2 separate regions of the Homo sapiens genome follow, and region 1 is linked to region 2. Evidence: promoter capture Hi-C in human tissues and cell types (Jung and others, 2019). All regions are on one chromosome and are shown on one strand. Each heading gives the region's core, a stretch centred on a gene start or on the middle of the fragment in contact. The rest is flanking DNA. Distances are from core to core; before and after follow the strand shown. Region 1 has its middle 39 kb from the start of CAP1. Region 2 holds the start of MYCL (MYCL proto-oncogene, bHLH transcription factor).

Evidence for each region. The method cuts DNA at HindIII sites, captures the fragments that hold promoters and counts their contacts. A contact is called where the count stands out against the background at its distance.
Region 1: a fragment that was not itself captured here is called in contact with the fragment with the promoter of MYCL in region 2 in 6 of the 25 tissues and cell types used here (IMR-90 fibroblasts, dorsolateral prefrontal cortex, hippocampus and 3 more).

Annotation. Positions count from the first base shown.
Region 1 is chr1:39,999,793-40,004,662 of GRCh38, reverse strand. No RefSeq gene overlaps it. Among named protein-coding and RNA genes, the nearest start is that of CAP1, 39 kb to the left of the region's middle. The HindIII fragment of the contact is 5,951 bases long and covers 252-4,870 here.
Region 2 is chr1:39,898,554-39,903,691 of GRCh38, reverse strand. MYCL (MYCL proto-oncogene, bHLH transcription factor) reads left to right here and starts at 1,775. Exons shown (of 2, transcript NM_001033081.3): 1 at 1,775-2,753. The coding sequence starts at 2,258. It overlaps MYCL-AS1 (MYCL antisense RNA 1), which reads right to left. Exons shown (of 3, transcript NR_183425.1): 3 at 4,594-5,056. RefSeq lists silencers at 1,202-1,411, 1,672-1,991, 2,402-2,521 and enhancers at 4,381-4,675, 4,922-5,138. The HindIII fragment of the contact is 12,166 bases long and covers 1-5,138 here.

The DNA.
Region 1 (4,870 bases), core at 1,978-4,477, 100 kb before region 2:
TGACTTTCTGCATATTACTATAAGTAAGTTATACCTCAATAAAGGAGAAAAAATATCCATGACACAGCAAGGAAGGAATACTGGTAGAAGCTACAGTCCTCATTCATGGAACTGATCATGGTACTTATGACTTCTCTCATCCCCCACCCAATCACATTGTCTTGCCATTGATTGGCCAGCACATCAGTTGGTTTAGCGCTTTGCCAGGTAGGTTGTGGAACTCAGCCTTCAAGGTAGCACCAAATGACTCTCACCTCTTGATCCATGCCTTTGTGTAGTCCCCTCCCATATTAGGTATATCCTAGAATATTTTAGATTGTTGGAATTATAGCCCTTCCCCAGCATAGCTACATCTTCTGCTCTAAGTTGATCAGTTTCTATCACTTTAGTAAACTATTTATCTGTCTGGTTTCAGCTCTTTCTTCACTCTGGACCCTGGAGATGTTTTTTTTCTTCCAACTTCATTCTACATTTCTTTAAATTTTGGCCAGCATTTCTTTTTCTTTCTTTCTTTCTTTTTTTTTTTTTTTTTTTTTTTTTTGAGGTGGAGTCTCACTCTTGTAGCCCAGGCTGGAGTGCAGTGGCGCCATCTCAGCTCACCACAACCTCCACCTCCCAGGTTCAACCAACTCTCCTGCCTCAGCCTCCCAAGTAGCTGAGATTACAGGCACCTGCCACCACATCCGGCTAATTTTTGTATTTTTAGTAGAGAAGGGGTTTCGCCATATTGGCCAGGCTGGTCTCAAACTCGTGACCTCAGGCGATCCACCCGCCTTGGCCTCCCCAGGTGTTGGGATTACAGACGTGAGCCACTGTGCCCAGTCTGGCCAGCATTTCTAAATATTTATTACAAGAACATCTTCAGATTATATAGTCAGCAGATGTTGAATTGAATGTTCTGTGTGTTTACTTTTCTGTCTCTCCAACTAGACTACGAGCTTCATAGATTGTCTTGCTCATAATTGTGTTCCCATAAACTAGCACTGTGGCTGGTACATAGTAGGCATTCATTACATGTGTGTTGAATGAATGAATGTAACCAGGGAAGGGATGAATGCCATAACCGGACATGAATTGTCTCCTTTTGGAAGGAGTTGAGTGCATTTTTTGCTTGCATATGAGATAGTTACAAAAATAAAGAAATTAATTGATTAATGAAGATATATCAGACTTGCCCATTTAAGATTATCATTCAGAATTGTCTACTGTTGATAATGAAACCTCAAGAGTTGCATTTTACATATTATTGCTTGGCCCACAAATACAGTGGTTATTTGAGTTTTACTTCTTCTTATATGTTATTTTTAAGCCTTGAAAGTCTCCAGAGGAAGTGGAATTTGGTTATGCTGACCTAGTTATAACACTGACTCGACATGGCTTTCTCTATGTCAGGGTAATAGAAATAAAATTTATTTCTGTGAATATATCATTTGCATTGGCATTTATAGAGCTTAGTATTTAATTGATGACTATTTTAGTGATTGACTTGAAAATTTACATTGTTTAGAATAGGTATCCCTTAGACTGTGGAGTCATAGACCTGGTCAATTTCATGATCAAAAAAGAATTCTTGAATTAGACTCAATCAATTTAGTAAACTATTTCACTTTAAAAAAAAAGAATTCTCAATTGTCTTTTTCAAACATGTGTTTACCCTCATCTTCCATTTTTCTTTATTCTTTCTCTTTTTTTTTTTTTTTTTTGAGATGGAGTTTTGCTCTTGTCGCCCAGGCTAGAGTGAAATGGCACAATCTTGGCTCACTGCAACCTCCACCTCCTGGGTTCAAGCGATTCTCCTACCTCAGCCTCCCGAGTAGCTAGGATTACAGCCGTGTGCCACCACACTCAGCTAATTTTTTGTATTTTTAGTAGAGATGGGGTTTTACCATGTTAGCCAGGCTGGTCTCGAACTCCTGACCTCAAGTGATCCTCCCGTCTCGGCCTCCCAAAGGGCTGGGATCACAGGCATGAGCCACTGCGCCCAGCCATCTTCCTTTTTTCTGTAATTTCATCTACTAGGTCAGGCCAAACTCTAGGAAGCAACCTTCAATCCTCTTTTCCTCCCATCTCTCAACCCCCACCCCACCCACCTCACGTTCAATTCTTTAGCAGTCCTGTTGTCTCTCCCTTCAAAAGATATCCAGGATCCAACCACTTATCAGAAGTCCCACCTACCAACGCTAAACCCACATCATCTCCTGCCTACACCACTGCAATACCCCCTTAACTCATTTGCCTGCTTTTACTCTTGTCCCCACTATCAGCTCTCCACACAACAGCTAGGGGAACTTTTCAAAATACAAATCAGATCACATCAGATATATAGTCACAGGTCAATTTAAAAGACAGCTTCCAGCCTGGCCAACATGGCAAAACCTTGTCTCTACTAAAAATATGAAATTTAGTTGGGTGTGATGGCCAGCGCCTGTAATCCCAGCTACTCAGGAGGCTGAGACAGAAGAATTGCTTAAACCCTGGAGGCCGAGGTTGCAGTGAGCCAAAATCAGCCACTGCAATCTAGCCTGGGTGACAGAGCGAGACTCCATCTCAAAAAAAAAAAAAGATAGCTGGAAAACATAGCTTCTGTGTCATCCCTGGCTATACTATAGCAAGCCAGGGGCCATCTCATTAAAAATGGTGTGATATTCCATCCCTAGCAAATTAATTTTTTTTTTTAAAAAAAGGAGGGAGATCTTACTGCCAAGGGAACTTATAAATAACAGAGGTTGGCCTAATCATCTTGGCTCTTTTCCACACTTCATAATACAGTACAAACAACCTCTGAACAATCAGCATAATGCTGAGAAAATAGTCATAATAACCCGGATGTTTTCCGGATAGATTCTTGCTATTTCTACTTGTTTCTCTCATTTCAAAGTTGACCTTTAATGAGCTAGTGAAAGGCTGGTTTCTGTGATGATCCAGGCTTCCTGCTCTGATGTTATGCTACCCATTCAGCAGTAATTAATATGGTGGAATTTGGTCCTTTTCCACATTGCCTTCCAGAAGGACTGATGGCCAGAAATAAAGCAGGCAGAAAGAAGTTTCCCAAATCTCAGGCAGGCTTAGAGGCATATTTACCATGAAGCTAAGGAAGCTTAAAATTTAAGAACCCTTACTTGCAAAACACTTTTCCAAGAACTTGTACCTAATTTTGTATTCATACTTTTGTATTCTTTTTCTTTTCTCTTCTTTTTTGAGAGAAGTCTTGCTCTTGTCCCCCAGGTTTGAGTGCAATGGCTTTATCTTGGCTCACTGCAACCTCTGCCTCCCGAGTTCAAATGATTCTCCTGTCTCTGCCTCCCAAGTAGCTGGGATTAAGGCGCCTGCCAACACGCCTGGCTAATTTTTGTATTTTTTAGTAGAGATGGGGTTTCACCATGTTGGCCAGGCTGGTCTCGAACTCCTGACCTCAGATGATCCACCTGCCTCGGCCTCCCAAAGTGCTGGGATTACAGGCGTGAGCCACCGTGCCCGGTTGTATTCTTTTTCTTAAAGGACTCCACCTGTTTGAAAGCAAGCTTTCAGTTCCTCTTCCTAGGTTTTATGACAATTACCAGGAATAGGAGACATGAAGAACTAGGGGAAGGGAGCAGCAAATGCAAAGCTCCTGTGGCCTTCCATTTGGCTGGTACGAGGTTATCAGGTTGCTTACGGGATGAGAAATCTTCTGTCCTAACCATCTCATGTCATCAGCATCCATATACTTTTTTTTTTTTTGAGACAGAGTCTCACTCTGTTGCCCAGGCTGGAGTGCGGTGGCGCCATTTCAGCTCACCGCAACCTCTGCCTACCAGGTTCAAGCAATTCTCATGCCTCAGCCTCCCAAGTAGCTGGGATTACAGGCATGCACCACCACACCTGGCTAATTTTTGTGTTTTTAGTAGAGACGGGTTTTCACCATGTTGGCCAGACTGGTCTCAAACTCCCAACCTCAGGTGTTCTGCCCACCTCAGCCTCCCAAAGTGCTGGGATTACAAGCGTGAGCCACTGCACCCGGCCTCAGCATTCATACTCTTTTTTTTTTTTTTTTTTTAATTTATTTTTTTATTGATAATTCTTGGGTGTTTCTCACAGAGGGGGATTTGGCAGGGTCATGGGACAATAGTGGAGGGAAGGTCAGCAGATAAACAAGTGAACCTTTGTTTTCCTAGGCAGAGGACCCTGCGGCCTTCCGCAGTGTTTGTGTCCCTGATTACTTGAGATTAGGGATTGGTGATGACTCTTAACGAGCATGCTGCCTTCAAGCATCTGTTTAACAAAGCACATCTTGCACCGCCCTTAATCCATTTAACCCTGAGTGGACACAGCACATGTTTCAGAGAGCACAGGGTTGGGGTAAGGTCACAGATCAACAGGATCCCAAGGCAGAAGAATTTTTCTTAGTGCAGAACAAAATGAAAAGTCTCCCATGTCTACTTCTTTCTACACAGACACGGCAACCATCCGATTTCTCCATCTTTTCCCCACCTTTCCCGCCTTTCTATTCCACAAAGCCGCCATTGTCATCCTGGCCCGTTCTCAATGAGCTGTTGGGCACACCTCCCAGACGGGGTGGTGGCCGGGCTGAGGGGCTCCTCACTTCCCAGTAGGGGCGGCCGGGCAGAGGCGCCCCTCACCTCCCGGACGGGGCGGCTGGCCGGGCGGGGGGCTGACCCCCCCACCTCCCTCCCGGACGGCACGGCTGGCCGGGTGGGGGGGCTGACCCCCCACCTCCCTCCCGGATGGGGCGGCTGCCGGGCGGAGACGCTCCTCACTTCCCAGATGGGGTGGCTGCCGGGCGGAGAGGCTCCTCACTTCTCAGACGGGGCAGCTGCCGGGCGGAGGGGCTCCTCACTTCTCAGACGGGGTGGTTGCCAGGCAGAGGGTC
Region 2 (5,138 bases), core at 526-3,025:
CAGAGAAAAGTCACTAAAGGACAATCCAATGCCTGTGCCTTGGGGCTGCAACCAAACCTGGAACCCTTCTGATTTGTGTCTTCCGTTTAGCACAAAGCAGGGCACACAAGCTGTCTCAGTGAAATCTGGTTAGCTGAGTCCCTCAGTAAGTCAGTTAGTTCACAAATGTCTGCCAGAAGCTGTTCTAGGTGCAGAAATCACAAAGCAAGTAGGAGCAGGTTTCTGCCTTCAAGATGTCCCACATGCAGCACAGACCCAACGTATCTAAAACGGAAGGCTGTCATTTTCCCTGCCTTCCCAACCCATATAACAACACACATCCGTGTCCCATGCTCCAACCACACTGAATTGCTTGCCCTTCTCACTTCCGTCTGCCAACAGTGAGTAGTTTGGTGTTCTTAGACCACAGGGGTGGGAGGGAAAGAGAGAGACAGCAGACAATCAGGCTGGGGTAGACAGACACCAGACCTTGATGCCAGGTGGAGGAATCTAGATGTATTGGCTGCTGTCCCAAGTTACTCTCCTCTGGCCTAAATCTCAGACTGGCCGTATAGTTTAATTTTTTCTCTTCCACCAAAGGTCATCTGTGTAGAAGATGACACAAAGGGGGACCCAGCACGGTGACCCGTGCCTGTAATCCCTGCACTTTCGGAGGCTAAGGAGGGAGGATCATTTGAGCCCAGGAGTTCGAGGCTGCAGCGAGTCATGATCGAGCCACTGCACTCCAGCCTTGACGCTGAGTGAGACCCTGTCTCTTAACAAAATATATTTAAAATTTAAAAAGAAGATTATACAAAGGGGTTATCTATCATCTTGGCCAGCAATGCAGGGCAAAACTTGAAACAACTTGGTCCTGCAGTATTTTCCAGATGCCAAATCCTCATTCTCTACTGTACAGCTCCTACAGTGTTTTGTGTGAGATGAGAGGGAGCATGGCGGGTCTCAGCTGGCTTTGCCCTGGGAAAAATTCCTCATTTCTGCACCGCCTCCCCAAAGCGGGGGCTAAGCCAGCGCCGTCTGCCTCTCCACCTAGACCAGACCCCTTCCCTAGATGCTCTTATTTCCCTGAAGCCTCACAACAACCCTGTGAGGTAAGCATTACCATCCCTTCATTTTACAGATGAAACTGAAGCTCAGGAAGGTTACGTTTCGGGCTCTAAATCCCGGAATCTTCGCTTCGATGCCATCCAGGCTTGGGCCACTGAGCTCAAGAAACGGGCCGACGGGTGACCAGACGGACGCCGGGACCAGCCCAAGTTCAGGGCTGAGGGCCGCCAGGTGGCGCGTTTCCCTCCCCCTACCCCTCGCGGCGGCTCGGGCGCACCTGAACCCAGCGGGGTGCGCCGGGGAAAGTAGGCGCGCAGGGTGGGGCGGGGAGTAGCCCTAATTCCCCAGCTCGGAGTGGGCAAGGAGCACGGTTTAGCTCAGCCGGCTGGCACCGCCAAGCGGCCGCCGGGCCGCATCAGCCCTCCTCCTGTTTGCGCTCCCCAGCGTGCAATTTATTTGGGGGGCTACCGGGGATTGAACGGAGCGGGCGAGCGCTGCCAGGAGGTGGGGCCGGCCCCACCTGTCGACTGCCCGTAGTAGGCAGGGAGAGGGCGGGGTTTGTCCCATAGGGCCCGCCCCCCAGTCCCTGGGTCCCGGGCGCGCGACGAGATATAAGGCAGTCAGGAAACAATGCGCCTGCAGCTCGCGCTCCCGCGCCGATCCCGAGAGCGTCCGGGCCGCCGTGCGCGAGCGAGGGAGGGCGCGCGCGCGGGGGGGGCGCGCTTGTGAGTGCGGGCCGCGCTCTCGGCGGCGCGCATGTGCGTGTGTGCTGGCTGCCGGGCTGCCCCGAGCCGGCGGGGAGCCGGTCCGCTCCAGGTGGCGGGCGGCTGGAGCGAGGTGAGGCTGCGGGTGGCCAGGGCACGGGCGCGGGTCCCGCGGTGCGGGCTGGCTGCAGGCTGCCTTCTGGGCACGGCGCGCCCCCGCCCGGCCCCGCCGGGCCCTGGGAGCTGCGCTCCGGGCGGCGCTGGCAAAGTTTGCTTTGAACTCGCTGCCCACAGTCGGGTCCGCGCGCTGCGATTGGCTTCCCCTACCACTCTGACCCGGGGCCCGGCTTCCCGGGACGCGAGGACTGGGCGCAGGCTGCAAGCTGGTGGGGTTGGGGAGGAACGAGAGCCCGGCAGCCGACTGTGCCGAGGGACCCGGGGACACCTCCTTCGCCCGGCCGGCACCCGGTCAGCACGTCCCCCCTTCCCTCCCGCAGGGAGCGGACATGGACTACGACTCGTACCAGCACTATTTCTACGACTATGACTGCGGGGAGGATTTCTACCGCTCCACGGCGCCCAGCGAGGACATCTGGAAGAAATTCGAGCTGGTGCCATCGCCCCCCACGTCGCCGCCCTGGGGCTTGGGTCCCGGCGCAGGGGACCCGGCCCCCGGGATTGGTCCCCCGGAGCCGTGGCCCGGAGGGTGCACCGGAGACGAAGCGGAATCCCGGGGCCACTCGAAAGGCTGGGGCAGGAACTACGCCTCCATCATACGCCGTGACTGCATGTGGAGCGGCTTCTCGGCCCGGGAACGGCTGGAGAGAGCTGTGAGCGACCGGCTCGCTCCTGGCGCGCCCCGGGGGAACCCGCCCAAGGCGTCCGCCGCCCCGGACTGCACTCCCAGCCTCGAAGCCGGCAACCCGGCGCCCGCCGCCCCCTGTCCGCTGGGCGAACCCAAGACCCAGGCCTGCTCCGGGTCCGAGAGCCCAAGCGACTCGGGTAAGGACCTCCCCGAGCCATCCAAGAGGGGGCCACCCCATGGGTGGCCAAAGCTCTGCCCCTGCCTGAGGTCAGGCATTGGCTCTTCTCAAGCTCTTGGGCCATCTCCGCCTCTCTTTGGCTGAAGCTGCCCGTGTAGTCCCCAACCGTGTCTGTCTGGCACGTGGGTGTGTTGGTAAACAGTTTGGAAAAGTGGCGTGGGAGCCAGCCTCCCTTTGATGATTATTGGAGCCCCAGGGGACAAGGGATTTGAGGTGAGGGTTGGCGCTTAGAGAGGACAATACTGGGGTTGGACTGTAAGGGATTGAAGGGGGTACCTTAAGAGACACTCCAAACCTGAAGTTTTTTTGCTGCTGCCTCTTTCCCTAGGAAACTCACACTCCCCTAGGGGGAGAAGAAGCCGAGAGCCTTTTGTGCAAAGCCAAAACCTTCGTCCTTTTAAAAACCTAGGTCTCCAGTTGGCTTTACTTTAAAATGCCAATAATAAATGCCCTCTTCTCGTGCCTCCCCACCACCACTTACCACTCGTGCATCCCTGAGACAGGGAGGGAAGAATGAACACTCCCCATTAACAGATGGAAAAACTGAGGCTTAGAGATAGACAATCACTACAAGTCAGCTCCAGCTTTCTGCCATCTAGCCAGCCCCTCTTCCCCAATGCTCCATCCCAACCAGGCACCTCTTCCTTGATGTTTGGGGTCTTTGTGGTAGCTTATCTTAGAAGCACTACACCTTGCCTTGCTGTTTGTCCTGAGATGGAAAAGTGTCCTTCTTGCTCCCCCTCAATAGATCTCCAGCGTCAGCTGCTCCCTGGCATTCAACAAATATTCACTGGCCCCTACTTTGTGGCAATCTGTGGGCTACATGCTGGGGTCAAGGCAGTAGAACTCCAGGCCCTCCTCTCCCATCCTTGATGCAAGTGCAACCTCGCTGAGGGCAGACTGGGGCATCCTGTGCCACTAAACTACATTGTTCTTATTCTGGCATCTTAGACCTCCACACCCGTGAGAAATCCTGGAGAGGGTATTTTTGTAGAGTGTAGACTGTGGCTAGTGACAAATAAATTAGGACCAAGAAAGCTCACTGTAGCTTTTAGGAATAACTTTTACACGACCATTTGATAGGGAACTGGGGAATGGGGTATGGAAGTTTTCCTACACTTGAGAGAAAAAATAGGATAACAAAAATTAAAAGTCTTTTTTTTCCTGGTCCACTGTGTTAAGGTCATTTTTAACCAGCTTGCTTTCTACACCAAGAGTTTATGTTTGTTTAATGGCTGGAAAGAGAATCTTGAGATCAAAAAACCAATAAAGATGTATCTCTACAACGGCTGGTGGAGTGGTAGAGTGGAAAGAGCATTGCTTTGGAAGTTGGACATTTTAGTTTGAGATCCAGAACGTTACAAAGGTGATATGTGGACTTCGCTGATCTGGGCCTCAGTTTCCCCATTTGCACACGATGGGGTTGGACTTGATTGTCCTGCTGATGACATTTCCTTGTCTGGATAGAGTAAGACACTACTCTCTGAAAGGGAGAATGGTGTCTTAAATTATTTCTTTCTTAGATAGAATCTTCCTGAGCCACGAGGCTTAACACTGAAAATTAAAGGTTTGGGATGTAGGGAAGCCTGCTGAATCATTTTCTAACCTACCCTTTAACCTGAACCTGTTTGTGAGCTTCTAGTTCACTCACAGGCCACATGGCCTGGAACAAAATGCAACAGATTGCAAACAATGAGGCGGGGGGTGGGGAAAGTGATTGGCAGCAGAGCTCACCCAATAGGGGCTAGGGGCTGGGTAAGACAGAAGTCCAAACACAGCGTAATCAGCCAATCATGGGCTTTGGGGCCAGGAGGGCTGAATGGTCAGGTTTATTAATGGAGAAATAATGCGATTGTCCACACAATGGAAGCCTTCCTGACAAAGGGGCTCAAGCTTCCTGATATGCAAAGAAGCTGAGAACGGAGCTCTTCCTTTGCGAGGCCGAGATCCATTAAGGTGGACTTCTGTGTGGAGGCTGCAAAATGTGTGGAGCAGGAGGAGACTTTTCTCCCAATTGCCCCTCTCCTGGTTAGGTTAACCTAAGAGACCTTCAAGCCAGTGAATGAGAAGGGCGTGTCCAGGTGTCTCCAGGTCTCTGGTGTTATGAGCCCCATATCTGGGACATTCTGCTGCCCAGTCTCTGCCTCTGGTGCAGGTAGTTTGGAAATGGTCGCTTGTACCTTTGTGAAGTTCCTGCAGCTTCGCCGACCTATGATTACAAATCTAACCTTCTAGTCCAGGGAAGGAGGTGGGGCAGGCGACCTATAAATGATGGATGACTTTAGAAACCCATTGAACCCAGGAGCAAAATGCTCCTAAGGGAAACCCTTTCCCTCCCCTCTGT